Linked DNA regions of Homo sapiens: region 1 is linked to region 2. The links are contacts of gene promoters, found by promoter capture Hi-C in blood cells and fetal thymus (Javierre and others, 2016). All regions are on one chromosome and are shown on one strand. Each heading gives the region's core, a stretch centred on a gene start or on the middle of the fragment in contact. The rest is flanking DNA. Distances are from core to core; before and after follow the strand shown. Region 1 holds the start of PCDHB6 (protocadherin beta 6). Region 2 holds the start of PCDHGB6 (protocadherin gamma subfamily B, 6).

Evidence for each region. The method cuts DNA at HindIII sites, captures the fragments that hold promoters and counts their contacts. A CHiCAGO score of 5 or more calls a contact.
Region 1: a contact is called between the fragment with the promoter of PCDHB6 here and the fragment with the promoter of PCDHGB6 in region 2, in 4 of 17 cell types (endothelial precursors, naive CD8 T cells, naive B cells and 1 more). The highest score is 7.2, in endothelial precursors.

What each region holds. Positions count from the first base shown.
Region 1 is chr5:141,147,789-141,152,061 of GRCh38, forward strand. It overlaps PCDHB6 (protocadherin beta 6), which reads left to right and starts at 2,269. Exons shown (of 1, transcript NM_018939.4): 1 at 2,269-4,273. The coding sequence starts at 2,470. It also overlaps PCDHB@. The HindIII fragment of the contact is 6,099 bases long and covers 1-4,273 here.
Region 2 is chr5:141,405,509-141,409,643 of GRCh38, forward strand. It overlaps PCDHGB6 (protocadherin gamma subfamily B, 6), which reads left to right and starts at 2,513. Exons shown (of 4, transcript NM_018926.3): 1 at 2,513-4,135. The coding sequence starts at 2,695. The region is part of intron 1 of PCDHGA1 (protocadherin gamma subfamily A, 1); the gene reads left to right. The region is part of intron 1 of PCDHGA2 (protocadherin gamma subfamily A, 2); the gene reads left to right. The region is part of intron 1 of PCDHGA3 (protocadherin gamma subfamily A, 3); the gene reads left to right. It also overlaps PCDHGB1, PCDHGA4, PCDHGB2, PCDHGA5, PCDHGB3 and PCDHGA6, and 6 more genes. RefSeq lists an enhancer at 2,922-2,971. The HindIII fragment of the contact is 5,535 bases long and covers 1,491-4,135 here.

The DNA.
Region 1 (4,273 bases), core at 1,019-3,518, 260 kb before region 2:
ATGTGTCCAGATGAGACCAAGGTTTTGCTCCCCAGTTAACAAAACTGAGCTTCAAAATATGATTAAGATGATTTCCAGTGAATGATGAAAATGTTCCGTATCTTGAAAAAAGTGTGAGTTACACACATGAATCCATTTGTTAAAATGGTACAGTTAAGATTGGTGCATTTCAATTTCTGTAAACATTGCCTTAAGAAAAGAACTATACAAAAGTAATCATTAAGCGGGAAGCAGAGAATGGAGAGAAAGGTATAGACAAAACAAGACAACAGAATGTTGTGAAACTGATTGTGTACAGAGGCTTATTCTGTTTACTTTGTATATGTTAGAATTTTTCCATAATAAAAATTTTAAGTTAATGAGTCCTTGTGAGAACATGTTTACGAATGCAAACTTAATTCAACTCTACTCTAGTCAATCAAATCAAAGCAAAAGAGGGCAACACAGAGAAACATTCTCCTGAAACAATCTAACGTAATCCATTTTCTATAAAAAGGCAGTTTCTTGATAGACCCAACTGATATCTTTTTGGGGTACTTTGAGCTATTATCCTCTTTCTATATAACTACCAATGTTATCAAAGACATTTCAAGGATCTAAATGGAGTTTGACAAATACTGTACTGCTGATAAATTTGCTCTGACGTAAAAAAATAATTCAACAACCTATATTCGAGGATGCCTGGTGGTGCTTCAGAGAAACAGAGTGAATAAAAGACTTTGTGGATGCCGTTAAGCTGGAATCAGAACTCAGAATGCTCACCGAAAGAAGGAAGCATTTAAGATTGAGCAGGAAATAATGGCCTTGTTTCAGCAAAGAGATGACACCAGTCCAATATGTTTATTATTGTTGGTTTATTTCATAATTTCATTTTGTTACATTCTCAAGGAACAGTGTGTTCCCAGTAGCATCTATCAAGTGAACCCTGGAGGCTGGTCACATTCATAATCTTTTGTTTTTCTGGCTACATAGAGGTGATTTTGAACTACAAGATCATCTCAGCTATTCAGAGTTTAGATTTTATTTAGCCTTATTTGTTTTGCCTAGCATTTATGTATTTGAAAATATCTTGATTTTTAATCTTCTATCACCTTGGCCCTTACCTGAAGTGAACTTTGTTTGAACTCAATTGATTTCACCTCTCAATAAATATGAAATTAATCTGAAATGAATTGAATTGTTTGGCATATTTTACCTCTTCTATGTGCACTAATCTATTTCACACATTTTCAGTTTGTTTAGAGATACATGTTCCAATGTATCTGAGTAGAAACTAGTGAGATGGGAATGGATATAGCCATAATATTCCATCATTGAATTCCATGGCATTCACTCAAATGTAACTCACCTGTTTTAACAGTACCTTAATTTGGCCTGTATTTATTGGACTTGGTGTTCTTTTTGCTGTGAGAAGACGGTGAAGGTGATTCTTGAATGTTTGTTTTCTGTGTTGCATCATGTTTGTACAACACGGTAATATATTTGGACCTTGATTAAATAATGTAAGAGGGGAATTTGATCAAAAAATAAAATGCACAAGACTGTTAAAACAATGTCTAATTCTATCCATGCAAAAATGGAGTAGAATCCTAAAATGCTTATGACAACTACTTGATTGCTTCTAGTCCCTCTTTTAAATACTTTAATTTACTTAGATACATGTATCATACGTACTTCTTGGCCTCAGTTTTCCTCCTAATAGCCTAATTGTTCTTTTTACTGTGCAGGCATAACTATATAACAAAGTAGGTTTTTTTTTTCATGCCATTTATGAGTCATATAATTTAGATAATTTATTGTTTATTTTACCATTATTGTTGCTAACAAACTTCGTTGTTTTGCATTGTTTGTTGGGACAATTAAATAGTGTACCTCTTGGACTAATAGATTAAATAGTTCATCAGAGATAAATTGCACTGCTGAAGCATCAAAGGAGAAAGACTGAAGTGTAGAATCTGCACTTCAATCTTTCTCCTTAATTAGCACCACCAGGGAATTTGATTCAAGTTCTAGAGGGGAGTGAACCCAGGAATTGGCTTAAAAACAAAAACATACACACAAAAAAACCAACGCTCGCAAGCAATTATTTATGCATGCGGTCCACGCACTCAGTTTGAGAAACACTGACTCGACTTAAAAGTCTTTATAATGCTCAGATTTCTGAAATGCTATTGACCTGAAAACATCTCATGAAGTTATTAGTTTGAACGCGTGGTGGCGGTACAAGCTAAGAGAGTGAATGAAAGCTCTGCAGACTCGGTGGACTCCGTTTCATCCAGAAGCCAAGTAAAAATACAGACCACGTTTACAGCTAAAGCTGAGATAGATGTGTCCGGGAAGGCAGTCGTCGCCAGACAAGTTGTAAGAACGAATTTAAAAATCTCTGCAAAGACATCCGAGAGGGTCGACGGTAGATGTGGTGATTGGGAGCTGAAAAGGATTTTTCTTCCGTATTCAGACATAATAGACATGATGCAAACTAAAGTACAGAACAAGAAAAGGCAAGTGGCTTTCTTCATTTTATTGATGCTTTGGGGAGAGGTGGGTTCTGAATCGATTCAGTATTCCGTATTGGAGGAGACAGAAAGTGGCACGTTTGTGGCCAACTTGACAAAGGACCTGGGACTGAGGGTGGGGGAGCTGGCTTCGCGGGGCGCTCGGGTTGTTTTCAAAGGGAACAGACAACATTTGCAGTTTGATCCACAGACCCATGATTTACTGCTAAATGAAAAACTGGACCGGGAGGAGCTGTGTGGCTCCACTGAGCCGTGTGTGCTACCTTTCCAAGTGTTACTGGAAAACCCCTTGCAGTTTTTTCAGGCTTCCTTGCGAGTCAGAGATATAAATGACCACGCCCCGGAATTCCCTGCCAGAGAAATGCTCCTGAAAATATCAGAAATTACTATGCCAGGAAAGATATTTCCTTTGAAAATGGCACACGATTTAGACACCGGCAGCAACGGCCTTCAGAGGTACACAATCAGCTCCAACCCTCACTTCCACGTTCTCACCCGCAATCGCAGCGAAGGCAGGAAGTTCCCGGAGCTGGTGCTAGACAAACCGTTGGACCGCGAGGAGCAGCCCCAACTCAGGCTAACGCTGATCGCGCTGGATGGCGGGTCTCCGCCCCGGTCAGGGACCTCCGAGATTCAGATCCAGGTTTTGGACATCAATGACAACGTCCCCGAGTTTGCTCAGGAGCTCTATGAAGCACAAGTCCCTGAGAACAACCCCCTCGGCTCTCTGGTTATTACCGTCTCAGCCAGAGATTTAGATGCAGGATCGTTTGGGAAGGTATCTTACGCCCTGTTTCAAGTCGATGACGTCAACCAACCCTTCGAAATAAACGCAATCACAGGAGAAATTCGGCTGAGAAAGGCTTTGGATTTTGAGGAAATTCAGTCTTATGACGTGGATGTTGAGGCTACAGATGGTGGAGGCCTATCAGGAAAATGCTCTTTAGTCGTCAGGGTCCTGGACGTGAATGACAATGCCCCTGAACTCACCATGTCGTTCTTCATCAGCCTCATCCCAGAAAACTTACCAGAGATCACAGTGGCAGTTTTCAGTGTTTCAGATGCAGACTCTGGACATAACCAACAGGTTATTTGTTCAATAGAGAACAATCTCCCCTTTCTACTAAGACCTTCCGTGGAGAATTTCTACACCCTGGTAACAGAAGGCGCGCTGGACAGAGAGAGCAGAGCCGAGTACAACATCACTATCACGGTCACTGATTTGGGGACACCAAGGCTGAAAACCCAGCAGAGCATAACTGTGCAGGTCTCCGACGTCAATGACAACGCCCCCGCCTTCACCCAAACCTCCTACACCCTGTTCGTCCGCGAGAACAACAGCCCCGCCCTGCACATCGGCAGCGTCAGCGCCACAGACAGAGACTCAGGCATCAACGCCCAGGTCACCTACTCGCTGCTGCCGCCCCAGGACCCGCACCTGCCCCTCTCTTCCCTGGTCTCCATCAACGCGGACAACGGCCACCTGTTTGCCCTCAGGTCGCTGGACTACGAGGCCCTGCAGTCTTTCGAGTTCCGCGTGGGCGCCACAGACCGCGGCTCCCCGGCGTTGAGCAGCGAGGCGCTGGTGCGCTTGCTGGTGCTGGACGCCAACGACAACTCGCCCTTCGTGTTGTACCCGCTGCAGAACGGCTCCGCGCCCTGCACCGAGCTGGTGCCCCGGGCGGCCGAGCCGGGCTACCTGGTGACCAAGGTGGTGGCGGTGGACGGCGACTCGGGCCAGAACGCCTGGCTGTCGT
Region 2 (4,135 bases), core at 1,263-3,762:
TCCCAAATTCAAGCGATTCTCCTGCCTCAGCCTCCCAAGTAGAGTAGCTGGGACTAGAGTAGAGTAGCTGGGACTACAGGCCTCCCAAGTAGAATAACTGGGACTACAGGCACGTGCCACCACGCCCGGCTAATTTTTTGTGTGTTTTTAGTAGAGACGGGGTGTCACCATGTTGGCCAGGCTGGTCTTGAATTCCTAACCTCAAGTGATCCACCCACCTCAGCCTCCCAAAGCACTGGGATTACAGGCGTGAGCCACTGCGCCTGGCCCTTAACTTTCTATTATAGTTAGCTTTCTCTTTAACTGTCTGTACTTAAGGTAGTATAAGTTGATATCAGTGTGTTTCTCATCACTTTTCACTGGGCCTAATTGTTGCTCCAACACTGAAAGGAGGCATTTATTAGTTATATTTGCTGATATAACTTTCATGTTCTCATAATAATTAACCTGCTGTCAACGTAAACCATACTTCATGGGGTAGCTCTCAGCCTGCATTGATGTGGGCTTTTTGGGTAGGGTTGCTTCATTGGTTGCAGTGGACTCATATCATAAAATTCTTACTCCTTTTTTTTTTTTTTTAAGAGATGGGGGTGTCATTCTGTTGTCCAGGGTGGAATGCAGTGGTGTGGGTAAAGCTTACTGCAGTCTCAATCTCCTGGGCTTATGCAATCCTCCCACCTCAGCCTTCACAGTAGCTAGGACTGAGGTGGGAGGGCTAGCAAGCTATGTTGCCCAGACTGGTCTCAAACGATCTTCCTGCTTCAGTTTCCCAAAGCACTGGGTGAGGTGTGAACCACCTCACCCAGCAAATTCTTACTCCTACGATCATTTATTCAGGTCATACTATGTTTGTAAGGGTAAACTGATAAAAAGGTAAATGTATTCTTCTTAGAGAAACAGCTGAAAGCCCAGATTTATTGCTTCTATTCTTCCATTTCTATGACAGGAAAACACCTCTTTGAGGTTATATTTTTCAGATCACAAGTGTGTAAAGTCTGTTTGTGTTTACAGATATTTTCTGACGAAGATTCAAACTTCAGTTATCCACTTCCAAACCCTAGTAAACCAATTTTTTCCCTTTAATGGTGAAAGTTGTCACATCTTTTATTCTCATATCTTCAAAGGTCTTAATTTCCTAATGCTTTAATGTTAAATTATGGAGAATAGTAGGACATTCTTCTTTTCTATAGTATATGCTTGCTCAAGAGAAGTTTCTAAGACTGGACACTGTGAAATGACAAAACAAGGAATTAAAAATATTTCTCTCACTTATATATTATTTCTGGCTCAATTCTCCAACTTTTGAGTCTAGAAATGAACTTGCATATCAGATATAATTTAAGAAAATATTCTCAGGAACTGCTGGGAAGATTCTAAAACTATTTTACTGTTTTTAGCTATAAGGAAGAGAATAATGTATTATTTAATGTTATTTTAAACATAGTGTTGTTTCAAATAGTAAATAACATTTCACAAGACATTTGAAAATAAGCTTTGAAGTTGACTCAAAATTCTATGCTAAACATGTGATCCATAGATACACTGATGACTGCTGGCATTTCTGTGGAAATGAAGAATTGTTTTATTTGTTTGTAATTATTTGGGTTTCAGTTGCTTTATTTTTAAGAAAAAAAAGCTGAAGTGTCTGGGAATCCTTTATGACATACAGACATTTTAATTATTTCAAACACGTTTTCCCCCTTAAGTGGGTAGCAAAAAAAATAAAGCATACTTCAGGCTCATATTTTTAACCATGCAACAAGAAAATTGTTACAATTTCTGTTCTGAGGAGTAGCCTTCATACTTAGTATTTATAAATATTGAAATGTATGTTAATTTGGGGAAAACATAACAGATATCCATGAAGGCTTGTATGTCATGGTAGGTAGTTACTATTCGATACCACAAAAATGTCTCTTGCCCTTAAAACCAGAACACGAGGCTCACCAGACAGATGACTGAATGGAGTATGGAAAATCTTTATTTCTGTTTTTCTTAGGCTATGTAGGACTTAACTTATTGTGCATTGGTAACAGATTGTAGAACATAAGCTGAAAGATAAAATTCTTGACCTTAATGTCTCATCTTAAAAAGAAGCATTGGTTGACATTCTATATCTCGTATTACTTAAAAATAATGGGGGAGCGCAGTATATATTAAACAAAGATTGGCTTTGTGGTGATCATTGTTGAAGGTGGGGTGATGGCTATGTGAAGGTTCACTATATATACTCCCTACTGTTGTATAAGTTTGAAATTGTGCATAATAGATTTATTTAAAACACAAAGCATAGAAATATCTACTATAATATTATGGTGAGAGCAAAATTTGAGGGGGATGTACACCTGCATTTTCGAAGAATATATACATTTCGGAGACCGAATTCAAAATGAAAAACCGGGCTGCTGTCCCGCACGGAGCCTCTGGGCGCCGCTGTCGGCCAGTGCAGAGCAAGCGCTGACGCCGGGGATCCGTCAGCCTCTGGCCTGGGATTCCCTGCGCAGCCAACAACAGAAAGAAGAAAACCAGCTCCCACACAGAGCCTCCCGGCTGCGCAGACCTTTCCCAGCACAGCGGATTGCCAGCTCCGAGACCCGGGACTCCTCCTGTCCTGGGCCGAATGCTCTTTTAGCGCGGTAGAGTGCACTTTCTCCAACTGGAAAAGCGGGGACCCAGCGAGAACCCGAGCGAACGATGGGAGGGAGCTGCGCGCAGAGGCGCCGGGCCGGCCCGCGGCAGGTGCTATTTCCTTTGCTGCTGCCTTTGTTCTACCCCACCCTGAGTGAGCCGATCCGCTACTCGATTCCGGAGGAGCTGGCCAAGGGCTCGGTGGTGGGGAACCTCGCTAAGGATCTAGGGCTCAGTGTCCTGGATGTGTCGGCTCGCAAGCTGCGAGTGAGCGCGGAGAAGCTGCACTTCAGCGTAGACGCGGAGAGCGGGGACTTACTTGTGAAGAACCGAATAGACCGTGAGCAAATATGCAAAGAGAGAAGAAGATGTGAGTTGCAATTGGAAGCTGTGGTGGAAAATCCTTTAAATATTTTTCATGTCATTGTGGTGATTGAGGATGTTAATGACCACGCCCCTCAATTTGATAAAAAGGAAATACATTTAGAAATTTTCGAATCTGCATCCGCTGGTACACGACTATCGCTTGACCCTGCCACGGATCCTGATATAAACATAAACTCAATTAAAGATTATAAGATAAACTCTAATCCTTATTTTTCATTAATGGTTAGAGTTAATTCCGATGGTGGCAAATACCCAGAGTTATCTCTGGAGAAACTCCTAGACCGGGAAGAACAGAGATCTCATAGCTTGATATTGACTGCCTTGGACGGAGGGGACCCACCAAGAAGTGCCACCGCTCACATAGAAATTTCTGTCAAGGATACCAATGATAACCCCCCGGTTTTCAGCAGAGACGAATATAGAATTAGTCTTAGTGAAAATCTGCCCCCTGGGTCCCCTGTGTTGCAAGTGACAGCCACTGACCAGGATGAGGGGGTCAATGCTGAGATAAACTACTACTTCCGAAGCACTGCCCAGAGCACAAAACATATGTTCTCATTGGATGAGAAAACAGGTATGATTAAGAATAACCAGTCATTTGATTTTGAAGATGTAGAAAGGTACACCATGGAAGTGGAAGCGAAGGACGGAGGTGGTCTCTCTACCCAGTGTAAAGTAATCATAGAAATCCTTGATGAAAACGACAACAGCCCAGAAATAATCATCACTTCTCTCTCTGATCAGATTTTGGAGAATTCACCTCCAGGAATGGTTGTTGCCCTCTTCAAAACACGGGATCTGGATTTCGGAGGAAATGGAGAAGTCAGGTGTAATATAGAAACAGACATTCCATTCAAGATTTATTCTTCTTCCAATAACTACTACAAACTGGTGACAGATGGAGCCCTGGACCGAGAGCAGACACCAGAATACAATGTCACCATCGTAGCCACTGACAGGGGCAAGCCGCCTCTTTCTTCCAGTAGAAGCATCACCTTGTATGTCGCTGACATCAACGACAACGCCCCAGTTTTCGACCAGACGTCCTACGTGGTCCACGTGGCCGAGAACAACCCGCCAGGAGCCTCCATTGCGCAAGTGAGCGCCTCTGACCCGGATT